Regions from separate parts of the Homo sapiens genome. Here all the other regions are linked to region 1. Evidence: promoter capture Hi-C in human tissues and cell types (Jung and others, 2019). All regions are on one chromosome and are shown on one strand. The core of a region is centred on a gene start or on the middle of the fragment in contact, and the rest is flanking DNA. Distances in the headings are between cores, read along the strand shown. Region 1 holds the start of APOBEC3B (apolipoprotein B mRNA editing enzyme catalytic subunit 3B). Region 2 overlaps GTPBP1 (GTP binding protein 1). Region 3 holds the start of TAB1 (TGF-beta activated kinase 1 (MAP3K7) binding protein 1). Region 4 holds the start of PDGFB (platelet derived growth factor subunit B). Region 5 overlaps SYNGR1 (synaptogyrin 1).

Evidence for each region. Contacts are between HindIII fragments. The study calls those that stand out against the background at their distance.
Region 2: a contact is called between a fragment that was not itself captured here and the fragment with the promoter of APOBEC3B in region 1, in 2 of the 25 tissues and cell types used here (liver and spleen).
Region 3: the fragment with the promoter of TAB1 here is called in contact with the fragment with the promoter of APOBEC3B in region 1 in 4 of the 25 tissues and cell types used here (adrenal gland, aorta, bladder and 1 more).
Region 4: a contact is called between the fragment with the promoter of PDGFB here and the fragment with the promoter of APOBEC3B in region 1, in 1 of the 25 tissues and cell types used here (liver).
Region 5: a fragment that was not itself captured here is called in contact with the fragment with the promoter of APOBEC3B in region 1 in 5 of the 25 tissues and cell types used here (adrenal gland, lymphoblastoid cells, mesenchymal stem cells and 2 more).

The regions. Positions count from the first base shown.
Region 1 is chr22:38,981,051-38,983,750 of GRCh38, reverse strand. APOBEC3B (apolipoprotein B mRNA editing enzyme catalytic subunit 3B) reads right to left here and starts at 1,404. Exons shown (of 8, transcript NM_004900.5): 1 at 1,281-1,404. The coding sequence starts at 1,297. RefSeq lists a silencer at 1,221-1,270. The HindIII fragment of the contact is 18,696 bases long and covers 1-2,700 here.
Region 2 is chr22:38,724,004-38,726,703 of GRCh38, reverse strand. It overlaps GTPBP1 (GTP binding protein 1), which reads right to left. Exons shown (of 12, transcript NM_004286.5): 6 at 2,293-2,407; 7 at 554-698; 8 at 264-446. Among named protein-coding and RNA genes, the nearest start is that of GTPBP1, 19 kb to the right of the region's middle. The HindIII fragment of the contact is 3,648 bases long and covers 1-2,700 here.
Region 3 is chr22:39,398,520-39,401,219 of GRCh38, reverse strand. It overlaps TAB1 (TGF-beta activated kinase 1 (MAP3K7) binding protein 1), which reads right to left and starts at 1,440. Exons shown (of 11, transcript NM_006116.3): 1 at 1,385-1,440. The coding sequence starts at 1,417. RefSeq lists a silencer at 1,082-1,221 and an enhancer at 1,382-1,501. The HindIII fragment of the contact is 8,049 bases long and covers 1-2,700 here.
Region 4 is chr22:39,243,732-39,246,542 of GRCh38, reverse strand. PDGFB (platelet derived growth factor subunit B) reads left to right here and starts at 1,561. Exons shown (of 7, transcript NM_002608.4): 1 at 1,561-2,642. The coding sequence starts at 2,580. The HindIII fragment of the contact is 11,810 bases long and covers 1-2,811 here.
Region 5 is chr22:39,352,868-39,355,567 of GRCh38, reverse strand. All of the region lies in intron 1 of SYNGR1 (synaptogyrin 1), which reads right to left. Among named protein-coding and RNA genes, the nearest start is that of SYNGR1, 4.2 kb to the right of the region's middle. The HindIII fragment of the contact is 5,350 bases long and covers 1-2,700 here.

The DNA of each region.
Region 1 (2,700 bases), core at 155-2,654:
CTAAAAAATAGCTTTTAACCTTTCAGCTCAATTCCTTCCTGATGTTTCACTCTGCGTGTTAACATTATTTTAAAATCATGGTAGAACTGAATTCTGAGGCCCAGGCCACTCTTCTAAGTGCTGAGCGGGTGTGAGCTCACGTGAGGCTACCCTAGGCCTGCAGGGGCCATTCCCATCTTACAGAGGAGATGCCAGAGGCACAGAGAGGCGGGGTAACCTGCCGAGGCCACAGAGCTGGGGACGGATGGAGCAGGGGCCCCTTTCCAGGCCAGCCCTGTCCAGCCTCTGCATCACGGATCCTGTAGGAGAAAGCTGTTGGGGACTGGGCTCTCTTTTCACTAAATTTTAAAATCAGAGCATTTCTCCTCATCATTGCACTTTTTTCCCACATTCTCACATTCCATGTTACTGATCATGTTCTTTCTTTTTTTTTTTGATGAAGTCTCACTCTGTCGCCCAGGCTGGAGTGCAGTGGCATGATCTCAGCTCACTGCAACCTCCACCTCCCAGGTTCAAGCAATTCTCCTGCCTAAACCTCCTGAGTATCTGGGACTAGAGATGCGCCACCATGCCTGGCTAATTTTTGTATGTTTTTTAGTAGAGACGGGGTTTCACCATATGGGCCAGGTTGGTCTCAAACTCCCGACCTCATGATCCGCCCGCCTTGGCCTCCCAAAGTGTTGGGATTACAAGTGTGAGCCACCACGCTCAACCACTGGTCATGTTCTAAAAGATGAAGAGTGACCTTGGAGTGGAACCTGTCTGGGGACATCTGCTCACCATGGAGTCATCCTTGGATGACACGATTTATCATGTGCTTCAGAGACCATTCCTACCCCCGCACCCTCTCCTAAGACTTTGTATTTAAGCAAAGTAATTCTTACAGAAATTTCATCAAAACACTGAGAACAAAAATGCCTGATTGCTCCAATTACCCTTTGGTTCAATTCTCCCAGTTTCTGAGCTCAGGAGTGGCAGGAAGCACACAGAGGGAGCACCCTCCCAGGGCGGGGAGCACCAGTCCGGGCATGACTTTAAGGGAGAGTCTCAGCACGGGGCCTGGGCTGGTGCAGGTAGGGGAGGCAGCCCATTCAGAAGCAGCAGTGGGGTGACCACACAGCAGGACAAAGAGCCTGACTGGGATTCGTGTGGCAGGGGAGCCAGAGGGGAGGGAGCCCAGGGCTGGGGCAGGGGCGGGGGGAGGCCAGGGTTGAGGCCCAGCAGGACCACCAGGCAGGAAGGGGCAGGAGGGGCCCAGCAGGCAGAGTGGGCAGCGGTACCTGATCTGTGGATTCATGTTCAGCCTCTTAGATACGCTTGTCCCTGTCCCGCTCTTTTTTTGAAGCTCTGTGGTTTCACTTCCTGCTTACAGCGTCCTTGCAGTTGGACAGCCCTCCTTAAAGTGACCTCCCAGGGCCTTATGAGTCATGGCCCCTCCCCATTCCTGCTCAGGCATTGGTGTGGGAGGCCCCGGGGTGCTTCATGTTTCTCTGGCTCTGGCTCTGGCTCTGGTTTTCCCCGGACCCTTCCCGCTGGCAGAGGAACCTCCAATAAAGACAGGCTGCTCTGTCTTTATCTGTCCTGGGCAGGACCCAACGGAATTGCAAAGAGAAAGAGAAAGGCATTGCAGCCTGAGCCTGGGAGGCGGGTCCAGACCCAGCTGAGAGAGGGGCAGGTGCCCCGTTGCCTGGTGGTTGGGCAGGCTGGAGCCCCCTCTCCACCACCCCCTCCCCAGCCCTAATGTGTGCCCAGAGCTTTGAGCAGCACCACCCTGTTGAGTGAGGGGAGGTTTTGAGACTCCAGTGGGGAAGGAAGTGTGGACTCCGCACAGCACAAGGGAAGGCTTAGGTGTGCCTCGAGTTCCCAGCTGTGTGCTGGGTCCATGGCATGCGTCCCCTCTTCCAACCTCCCAGCTTCCAGAAGGTGGGGGGCAGGTCAGCCCCTCAGAGGGACTGCGATGTCTGCGACACCAAGGAAGGGAGAAGGGTGTCTATAAACAGGCTCACTGCCCAGGGACCTCTCAAGGGGTTCTTTGTGGGCCAAGAAAACGGGAAACACATACACACACAGCTTTCTGATTATTTAAGTCCATCTAAGCATATTTTGGAGGAATGAATGTACATTGAAATAATCTTCCTAAATAGATTCCTTTAAGGGGAGTTTGTTCCAGCTGGAGAAGTTGTGCTCTCTGTAGAGGCTCTGAACTCCTCTGGCTACGACGACGGGAATGCAGACAGGGAGGAGGATGCGTGGGTGGTAGGGGGAGCAGCAGCGCCCCTACCTGCACAGAAGCTTGTCCAACCTCTGCACAAAGCGGACTCCCAGTGGTTGTTTTTGGAAGGTGAGTTTTCTTTTCTTTCTTTTTTTTTTTTTAAATCTTCCCCAGTATAAATCTTTTAATTTAAAAGTAAATTTTATTGTCGAAAATGCAAACTTGGGGAGGGCAGAAAGATCACACACAGGGCTGTCACTTCACACCTGGGGGGTTGCTGGGAGCCGTCCAGAAGCGCTCCTCACTTCCCAGACGGTGCGGGGGCCGTCCAGAGGCGCTCCTCACTTCCCAGACGGTGCGGGGGCTGGGCAGAGGCGCTCCTTACTTCCCAGACGGTGGGACAGCCAGGCAGAGGCGCTCCTCTGGAAGGTGAAGTTTTCTGTTGCCGTCAGAAAGAGATGGACAAAGGATAAGACCATCGGTGGAAA
Region 2 (2,700 bases), core at 27-2,526, 260 kb after region 1:
CACTGAGCTCAGGCCACCCTGCTCAGGCACCAGAGGGAGGAACGGAGCTTAGAAGGAGGCATTCCTCGCTCTAGCACTTACAAGCTGTGTGTCTTGGGCAAGTCCCTGGGCTCTGAGCCTCAGTTTCCTCATCTGTAAAAATGAAGCCAGTAATCCCGACCTTGCAGAGCAGCCATGAGGACTAGAGTGGGTGAGCAGGGCATCTGGCCAAGAGCCTAGCATGATGGAGTCTGAGGGGAGCGTTCAGTATCATCGCTACTCACCTTCTTCAGCGCAAAGGATGCTGTCTGGCCACCCCGCACCTCCTTGACAGGCATGCGCTTGCGATGGATGGATTTGACAGCAATGGACAGGAAGTTACCCAAGGGGTCTGGGCCCAGCAGCAGCGTGTCATTCAGCTTGATCAGGCCTCTCAGTGTTGTCCCCGAAACCACTGTCCCCACACCCTGCCAAGGAGAAGACCCTGGCCTCATAAGTGCATCCCCAGCACAGACCCACCCCCTGATGCCACTGTAGGAAGTGCCCACCCAGCTACCCGCCCAGAGCCACTTACCGGGACGGAGTAGGTGTCATCAATCTGAAACTCAGCAGGCTCCTCCTCCCTGTAGCTGGTGCGGGGGGAGAGGAGGTTGAGGAACATCTTCAGCAGATCTAGGTTCTCGCCTGTAACGTTGGAGATCTGGAATATCGGGCACATCCTAAGCAGAGGGAGAAGAGGAAGGAAAAAAGGAGAGAGGCACTCAGGAGACCAGGTCCTGCCCTGACACAGACCAGGGGCAGCAACAGGGCTCGAGGAGCAGATGCCACTATTCATGACTCCACCTCTCCCTCACCTGCCTCCAAGGGCTTGACCTCTTTGCCCTGACCTAGCAAGCTCCTGGCCAGCCCTACTCTGAGGCCTTCTTCTCTCACTCAGTTCTGTCTCTGACACCTGTCCTCTCCTCTCTGTCCTCCACCACTGCCCTAGTTTGGAACCTCATGACTGCTTCTTCCTAAAACACACGCATGCTTGCTTAAAATCCTTAACCGCCTTTCCACCACAGAGAAGATACCCCAAATCCCTCTCCCAACACTCACAGCCCTTTGGCTTGGGCTTGTAGCCATCTCTGCAGATTCACTTCTCGCAAATTCCTATATTCCAGCCACACCAGAGAACTCTCCCTTCTCCTAAAACTTTGGAACTTTTCTGCCCTTGTGGATTTGCTCACTCTGACCTTCCTTCCTGAATTCTTTCCCTTTTATGCAACTACCAGGCCCTCTCACCCTTCAGAGCTCATCTCAAATACCACTTCTTCCATGAAATCCTTCCTGGGTGGACACTCTTGACTCCTCTGAGTTCCTGGAGAGCTTTTTCTCTATTACACATGACTGCATCTGATTTTTCATCAGAGTCCTGTAAATGGCCTCTATTGCTCCTATTCAGGGTGACTGAATTAAAATCCTTGAGATCACGAATTACACATTCCCCACAGCTCCTAGAATAGTGCCTGCACAGAATAGGCACTCAAGAATATCAACAAGCTCAAATGGGGCTGTCTGAAATGTGCCCCCTCTGCAGGCTAACTGATGGTACTGAAGATCACATCAGGGCAGAGGCATAGGCAAAAAGCCAGGCTGCTCTGGGCCTGGCGCTATAGACCAAGCTCTGGGCAAACAGGCAGAGTTAGTAGAGTTCACCATTATCGAGAGAGCATCTCTCACCAAGGAGCTGAACACCTTGAGGACAAGGATTGTGTTCAATTCAACTCTGAATCCTCAACATCTAGATGAAGAGTCTCGCAGAACAAACATCCAATAAATATTTATGGAATGAAAGAATACATTAATGAGTAAATGCCAAAACTGATCTGATTAGTGAGCTTTTGAGGAACAACAGTATAAAAAACTGAGTTACAAAAATGGCTGTGTATTTACCATCCATCAGCCAGGCAGGGCATTAAGTGCTCTACATACTTCATTTCCAACATTCACGGGAGCCCTACAGGGAAGGGAATGTTATTCCCATTTCACAGATAAGGACACTGAAGTCTCAGCCGGGATGCCAACCCCAGGAATGCCAGCACCTCACAATCTGGGTTACGTGATATTACCCCTGGGCAACAATGCTGGCTTGGGAGACCCTGCGCTAAGATTGGAAGCTTCTATTTCCTCCGATCTCTGAATAGGGAGAGGTGTTGATGTGGTGTTTTCATGAGACCTTATGCCCAAACTGACAGCCATTCCAGGCCCATCACTCACTGTGGTCCTGCCTGCAAGGGTGCCTGTCTGAAGTGTGCGCTCCCCACGCGTTACCTTTCAGAGCTGAAGTTGGAGGCTGTGACAATCACATCATCTTTGCTCTGCACCAGCACGGGGATCTTCCGGCAGCCTGGTGACTTCAGCAGGCGCTGTAACAGCTTCAGGGTTTCTTAAAGGGTGCAATGGAACAGAATTAGGGGGACACAGCCTTCTCTTTGGCCAGGCTTTAAGAGCAAGATGGGTCCACTCATTACTGATGCAAGCAGGAGACAGACAGATAGATGGACCAGTGTTAAATGCCACAATGCCTGGAGAAGCAAAAAGGAGGATCAAAACTTTGGGTGCTGCTAGAGTAAGAAAAGCACAGATGGGGCCTCTTTTCTAGGGTTCTGCGTCTGAAACCTGGCAGATTTCTCTTGTGTCTAGACGACCTGCCTCCTGTAAGCATGTGACTTGAGGGTC
Region 3 (2,700 bases), core at 191-2,690, 420 kb before region 1:
CTCACCTCTGTGACGCCAAGGGCGAGCACTGGACCTGGCTACAAACCTTTACTCATCCTTTCACAAATGTATTTATTGAGTGCCCAGCACATGGTGATAGATAATAGAGACACAGCGGTAAACAAGAGATCACAGGTCCCTGTCCTCAAGGAGTTTACTTTCGTTTTTTTTTTTTTTTTTTTTTTGAGACACAGTCTCGCTCTGTCGCTCCAGGCTGGAGTGCAGTGGCCCGATCTTGGCTCGCTGCAAGCTCCGCCTCCTGTGTTCAAGCTAATTCTCCTGCCTCAGCCTCCCGAATAGTTGGGACTACAGGCGCCCCCACCACGCTCGGCTAATTTTTGTATTTTTAGTAAAGACGGGGTTTCACCATGTTGGCCAGGATGGTCTTGATCTCCTGACCTCGTGATCCACCCGCCTCAGCCTCCCATAGTTCTGGGATTACAGGCATGAGCCACCGCGCCCGGCGGAGTTTACTTTCTAGTACAGGAGGCAGACAAGTCCATAGACAATTCTAACAGTGCCATGCATAGGAAGGACCCAGGAGGCCAGCACCCTACCCTGGTAGGTCAGAGTAGTCCATGGTGCCAACATGTGTGTGCATCTATGTGCACATACGCGTCAGAGGACGCAGGGCCTGGAAGACAGCGCCAAACCCATGAGGGTCCAGACCGGGGGTAGGGATGAGTCTGAAGACAATTCTTCCACTCAGCGCTCTCGCCTTAGGAGAAGGAAACTGAGGCTGAGGGAGACACAGTCAGAGCCAGGACCAGAACCCAGTGACAGCTACCACTGGTCATTCCTTTAGTACAGCCCAGGGGTTAAGGGGGTTTCTGGAATCACACTGCCTGATTTTAATCCTGCCTCAATACGTACCATTTGTGTGGCCTTAGGCAAACGACCACCTCAGTGTCTCAGTCTGTCAAATAGGAATAACAGTAGCACCTATCTCAGGGGGCTGCTACGAAAATGAAACTGACAAATGTAAAGCAATTAACACAACGCCGGGGATGCAGTAAGCGGTACACTGTGGATGCTGCTGTTATTATCATTGCACGTCTGCTCGGTGTCGCAGTGGGCTCGAGACTCGGATAGCTCTGCTGCCGCCCGCCGTGTTCCCTTCTGGCTCCAGGACGCTCCCGCCCTCGACGCCCGGCAGCAGCAGCCCACAGCCCCGGCGCCCTTGACCCGGGGGCCGGGCCCGCCGCGCACACACGCCCTGGCCTCGGGAACGAGGGGGCCAGCCCGAGGAGAGGAGAAGGTGGCTGACACACCCCACCACGGAGAGGGTGGCTGTCCAAACTCGGAGAAGGAGCCGTTCCTGCACCCGACAGCACCCCCGCCCAGGCTCCCAACCCCAAGCCCAGAGAGCGGGCCTGTTCCTCACACTCTGCAGCAAGCTCCTCCTCTGCGCCGCCATCTTGGAGGAACCCCTGCGGGAGCGCCCGCCTCCCCGCAGAGCAGCGAGTGGGGCGGCTAGAGCGGCCCGAAGGAGGCGAGGATGACCGCGCTGCCGGGGAGCATGCGCCCAGCGCCACCCCACGCCCGAAGAGGGATGGGGGTCGTAGCGGACCGTGTGCGCAGGCGCGCTCTTGCACGTTTTGTTGTTGTTGTTGTTGTTGTTGTTTTGTTTTGTCTTTTCCTCGGGGCCGATTGCTCCTCGCCCATCTTTATTATTTTTTGAGATAGGGTCTCACTCTGTCACCCAGGCTGGAGTGCAGTGGCGCGATCACAGCTCCCTGCAACCTCTGCCTTCCGGCCTCAAGCGATTCTCCTTCCTCAGCTTCCCGAGTAGCTGGGATTACAGGTGCCCGCCTCTCCTGCCCCAGCCTCCGGAGTAGCCGGGACTACAGGCATGAGCCACCACGCCCGGCTAATTTTTGTATTTTTAGTAGAAACGGGGTTTCGCCATGTTGGCCAGGCTGGTCTTGAACTCCTGAGGGTTCTTTGTGAACACAGTTGGTAAGGGGAGGACAATTCATTCACTCAGCAAATGCTACCTAGGTGACCCTGCTTGGCTCTATAGTGGGTTCTGCAGCGAGCAGGACAGGCCTTCAAAAAGCTAACATTTTATTTTATTTTATTTCATTTCATTTTATTATTATTTTATGTTATGTTATGTTATGTTATTTTTGAGACGGAGGCTTGCTCTGTCGCCCAGGCTGGAATGCAGTGGCGTGATCTGGACTCACTGCAACCTCTGCCTCCCGGGTTGAAGCGATTCTCCTGCCTCAGCCTCCCGAGTAGCTGGGGTTACAGGCGCCCGCCACCACGCCCAGCTAATCTTTTACATTTTTTGTAGAGACGGAGTACCGCTATGTTGGCCAGGCTGGTCTCAAACTCCTGGCCTAAAACGATTCTTCTGCCTGGGCCTCCCAAAGTGCTGGGATTACAAGTGTGAGCCACCCCGCCCAACCTAAAATGTTAACATTTTAATTGGAGAGGACAACATTTATGTATATAAGACATTCTGCCGGGGGCAGGCGCGGTGGCTCATGCCTGTAATCCCAGCACTTTGGGAGGCCGAGGCCGGTGGATCACCTGAGGTCAGGAGTTCGAGATCAGTCCAGCCAACATGGTGAAACCCCATCTCTACTAAAACTACAAAAAATTAGCCAGGCATGGTGGTGCACGCCTGTAATCCCAGCTACTTGGGAGGCTGAAGCAGGAGAATCACGAACCTGGGAGGTGGAGGTTGCAGTG
Region 4 (2,811 bases), core at 312-2,811, 260 kb before region 1:
ACATTTCCATCACCACTAAAATTTTGCCATGCCTCTCTGTTCTCTCTCACTCCTTCCCATTATAGATTTATTTTTATTTCTTTAGAGATAGGGTCTTGCTCTGTTGCCCAGGCTGGAGTGCAGTGGCACAGTCACAACTCACTGCAGCCTCAAACTCCTGGGCTCAAAACGATCCACAGTCTCCTGAGTAGCTGGGACTACAGGAGCTTGTTACCACACCCAGCTCCAGTTTATAAATTCATCTCCAGTTTATAAAGGAGGAAACCGAGGTACTGAGAGGTTAAAAAACCTTCCTGCAGACACTTGTCCAGCAAGTGGCCACTCCAGGATTTGGACCAAGGTGATGTGTCTTCAGGCTGTGTCTCTGCCACTGTGCCACGCTGCTGGGTGGTAGGCAGCAGTGGGTGGGTGCCTGCAGTGGTCTGTAAAGACCACCTGAGATGTCCTTCCTCCTCTGTTCCACCCTGTCCAGGTCCAAGAAGACAGTCTATGAAGAGAGAGCAGGTGTGACTCTCTCAGTGTGCTCCTCTGTGAGAAGCAGGCTGACATCCCAAAGGGAAGGGCGGATAACAGAGACAGTGCAAGCGGAGGAGATGAGGGTGCCTCAAAGCCGGGAGGCTGGGTGATGCAGGAGCCTGCGTGTCCCGAGGGGGGTGCTGGGCCCAGTGTGAGTACGTGTGACTGTGACTGAGACAGTGTGACTGCTGAAGGCAGGGACACAGCAGCTCCCTGACTGGGGGCAGAAGGCGTTAACTGTGTGAAGGCTGGTTGTGGGTGGGTGGGCTCTGGGCCTCGAACCCGGGGGCTGAGGGAGATAGTAAACAGCAGGGTGACTGACGGGAAGATCATGTTGGTAGCCCTGCGAAGATGCTGCAGGGCTGTGGGGGTTTGTGTGACTTTGCAGTTCAACAAATTCAAATTCAGCCAACGCTGGCAGGGCCTGTTGTGCCAGGCAACCAGCTAGGAGGAGGAGACTCGGACCCAGCTTGCAGCTGAAGGGCGCTGGCTGCCGGGTTCTGTGGGTTCACCTTGCGGTGTCTTCCCTTGCTAACACTGAGTCCTTACAATAGCCCCATCTCCAGGTTGAGGCTAGATGGAGGGGACAGAGGGAAGTGACTTGCCCAAGGTGACCCAAGCTCCCGAGTGCCAGGGCAGGATCTGAATTCAGGCTCTCAGACTGCAGAGCCTGAGTCCCTCCCTGCCATGCCTGTGCCAGGGTGGAAATGTCTGGTCCTGGAGGGGAGCGTGGACTCCTGGCCTTGGCTCTGGAGACATCCCCCTAGACCACGTGGGCTCCTAACCTGTCCATGGTCACTGTGCTGAGGGGCGGGACGGTGGGTCACCCCTAGTTCTTTTTTCCCCAGGGCCAGATTCATGGACTGAAGGGTTGCTCGGCTCTCAGAGACCCCCTAAGCGCCCCGCCCTGGCCCCAAGCCCTCCCCCAGCTCCCGCGTCCCCCCCCTCCTGGCGCTGACTCCGGGCCAGAAGAGGAAAGGCTGTCTCCACCCACCTCTCGCACTCTCCCTTCTCCTTTATAAAGGCCGGAACAGCTGAAAGGGTGGCAACTTCTCCTCCTGCAGCCGGGAGCGGCCTGCCTGCCTCCCTGCGCACCCGCAGCCTCCCCCGCTGCCTCCCTAGGGCTCCCCTCCGGCCGCCAGCGCCCATTTTTCATTCCCTAGATAGAGATACTTTGCGCGCACACACATACATACGCGCGCAAAAAGGAAAAAAAAAAAAAAAAGCCCACCCTCCAGCCTCGCTGCAAAGAGAAAACCGGAGCAGCCGCAGCTCGCAGCTCGCAGCTCGCAGCCCGCAGCCCGCAGAGGACGCCCAGAGCGGCGAGCGGGCGGGCAGACGGACCGACGGACTCGCGCCGCGTCCACCTGTCGGCCGGGCCCAGCCGAGCGCGCAGCGGGCACGCCGCGCGCGCGGAGCAGCCGTGCCCGCCGCCCGGGCCCCGCGCCAGGGCGCACACGCTCCCGCCCCCCTACCCGGCCCGGGCGGGAGTTTGCACCTCTCCCTGCCCGGGTGCTCGAGCTGCCGTTGCAAAGCCAACTTTGGAAAAAGTTTTTTGGGGGAGACTTGGGCCTTGAGGTGCCCAGCTCCGCGCTTTCCGATTTTGGGGGCCTTTCCAGAAAATGTTGCAAAAAAGCTAAGCCGGCGGGCAGAGGAAAACGCCTGTAGCCGGCGAGTGAAGACGAACCATCGACTGCCGTGTTCCTTTTCCTCTTGGAGGTTGGAGTCCCCTGGGCGCCCCCACACGGCTAGACGCCTCGGCTGGTTCGCGACGCAGCCCCCCGGCCGTGGATGCTCACTCGGGCTCGGGATCCGCCCAGGTAGCGGCCTCGGACCCAGGTCCTGCGCCCAGGTCCTCCCCTGCCCCCCAGCGACGGAGCCGGGGCCGGGGGCGGCGGCGCCCGGGGGCCATGCGGGTGAGCCGCGGCTGCAGAGGCCTGAGCGCCTGATCGCCGCGGACCCGAGCCGAGCCCACCCCCCTCCCCAGCCCCCCACCCTGGCCGCGGGGGCGGCGCGCTCGATCTACGCGTCCGGGGCCCCGCGGGGCCGGGCCCGGAGTCGGCATGAATCGCTGCTGGGCGCTCTTCCTGTCTCTCTGCTGCTACCTGCGTCTGGTCAGCGCCGAGGTGAGTTGCCACGGCGGCTGGGGCTGGTTCTTCATTCATTACCTTCGCCCCCCCCTTCTGACCGCCCCCTCCTCTCCCTGCAGTGAACTTTGGACCCTTGCAGCCCGCGAGCCTGACGCCGGGCGCTGGGTGACCTCTTCGGGCTGGGAGCGAGGTCCGGGGGTGACAG
Region 5 (2,700 bases), core at 150-2,649, 370 kb before region 1:
TGGGCTGTCCCTGGACATGAGGAAGTGCCCAAAACACAGCAGAAATCTATCACCTCCCAGCGGTCTCCTTGCAGCTGACCCTGTCCTAGACCTGAGAGAGAAGAAGCGGCGGAGCGGCCGGCCACAGGAGGTGAAGAGGTGAGAAAGACTCCAGGGTGGTCAGCAATAAATAACAAACAAGGGCCGTGGGCCCACCTTCCTGTCTAGGTGACAGGGCTGTGCCCGGTACTGGGAGAGGACAGGCTGGACGTGACCACGCATTTCCAGCCACAGAGCCCTCTCCAAACCAAGCTTCCACAGGAGCTTCCGAAATACCCTTGACCCTCTCTCCAGCTTCCCACTGCCCTCAGAGGAAGTCCAGCTTGTGAGTCTGTCATCCAAGCCTCTCCTGGGCCACCCCTTGGGAATTCCTTCTTGTAGTGACCCGAGCCTCTGGGACAGTGCTTCCCACTCAATCCTGTTCTCGTTATTGGAGCGAGAGTGCCTTGGGGTGGCACTGAGCACTCAGCTGGCACTGAGCAGGGGACTTGTGGAATGAACAAATGAACATCAGAACTGGCCAGAGGTTCTGTCTCTACCCTGGACCCTCTTCCCCAACAACCGCTGGTCCCAGAATTTTCCTGTGGCCCCATGGCTGGCACATGGCAAGTTGGTTGGGGGAGGCAAGGGGTCTTATCTTGAAACTGCTGTGTTTACAAAAAACGTTCAGCTTTTTTTTTTTTTTATTTGAGACAGAGTTTTGCTTTTGTTGCCCAGGCTGGAGTGCAGTGGTGTGATCTCAGCTAACTGCAACCTCCGCCTCCCGGGTTCAAGCGATTCTCCTGCCTCAGCCTCCTGAGTAGCTGGGATAACAGGCGACCGCCACCACGCTCAGCTAATTTTTGTATTTTAGTAGAGATGGGGTTTCACCATGTTGGCCAGGATGGTCTCGAACTCCTGACCTCAAGTGATCCACCCGCCTTGGCCTCCCAAAGTGCTGGGATTATAGGCGTGAGCCACCTCACCTGGCCAAGTTCAGCTTTTTTATTCAGTGTTCACTTGGGATGATGGGGGGTGGAGTGGAGGGGGTGAATAAAACCAGGGGTATGAAGCTGCCCCCCTCAGGCCACCCCTTGGTGCCATGGATATCCAGGCAGAGAACCCACAGGGAGTACACAGAATGTGGAGCCCAGCAGTCCGGGTTCAAACCAAGTCTCTGACAAGCCCAGGCCTTGAGCTAGCACAAGTCACTTCTCCAGGCTGAGCCTTAATTCTGTCATTTGTAAAACGGGGGGAAGATACCCACCCCACTTACAGAACCATGTGGTATTATGGCCAAAGCCCTTAAAAAATGAACCCTGAAAATGGCAACATTTCAAACATTTTATCATTTTCATTTTGTCAAAGTAGAGAATTAAAGAAACATTGACTGGGCACGGTGGCTCACACCTGTAATCCCAGCACTTTGGGAGGCTGAGGCGGGTGGATCACTAGGTCAGGAGTTTGAGACCAGCCTGGCCAAGATGGTGAAACCCCGTCTCTACTAAAAATTTAAAAAGTAGCTGGGCATGGTGGTGGGTGCCTGTAATCCCAGCTATTTGGGAGGCTGAGGCAGGAGAATCACTTGAAACCAGGAGGCAGAGGTTGCAGTGAGCCAAGATCGCGCCACTGCACTCTAGCCTGGAGACAGAGCGAGACTCCATCTCAAAAACAAAAAACAAACAAACAAAAAACTCATCTGCCAGCACTGATATTCATTCCCTATAGTCCATCTTAGCCCCCTGCAAAAAAGAATATAAACTCCAAATAAAAGGTGGTCCTTTCTATTAAATCAGTTTAGCTTCTTGCTGTAACTCCTTTTTTTCCCATCTGGCTTTAGAACAAAGAAATGAGTCACTGACAGGCGGCAGTCACCGCGCAACAGATCAGGCACTTCTGACCCAGCCCAGCCCAGTTCGGGTGGGAAGACTGAGGCACAGAGGGTGGGGAGGGGACACTTACTGAAGGTCACAGCTGTGGCCTGGGGGTGCCAGGAGTGGCAGCTGATCTGCCACTGGGGCGATGACACCAAGAGGTGAGAAAGCCTTAGTCAAGAGACAAGCCATGCCGGATGCAGTGGCCCACGCCTCGCCTCATCGTCCCAGCTGCTCACAAGGCTGAGGTGGGAGGATCACTTGAGTCCAGGAGTCTGAGACCAGCCTGGGCAACACAGCAAGATCCTGTCTCTAAAAAAATAAAAAAGAGACAAGCCAGGTCTTGGAGGCCCTGCTTCTGTGCAGGCTGACCCAGGGGCTCAGAGGGCTTGGGTTCCAGGGTGGGTCCAGGTTGGTGAGGCCCTGAAGCTTACATGATTTGGGGGCCCTCTTTTGGAAAAGCAACAGAAAAAAAAATCTTTCTTTTACAAATTTTACAAAAATCCCAGGTCCAGGCCGGGTGCGGTGGCTCACGCCTGTAATCCCAGCACGTTGGGAGGCCAAGGCAGGTGGATCACCTGAGGTCAGGAGTTCGAGACCAGCCTGGCTAACATGGTGAAACCCCATCTCTACTAAAAATACAAAAATTAGCTGGGCGTGGTGGTGTGTGCCTGTAGTCCCAGCTACTTGGGAGGCCGAGGCAGTAGAGTTGCTTGAACCTGGGAGGCGGAGGTTGCAATGAGCCGAGATGGCACCATTGTACTCCAGCCTGGGCAACAGAGCAAGACTCCATCTCAAAAAAAGAAAA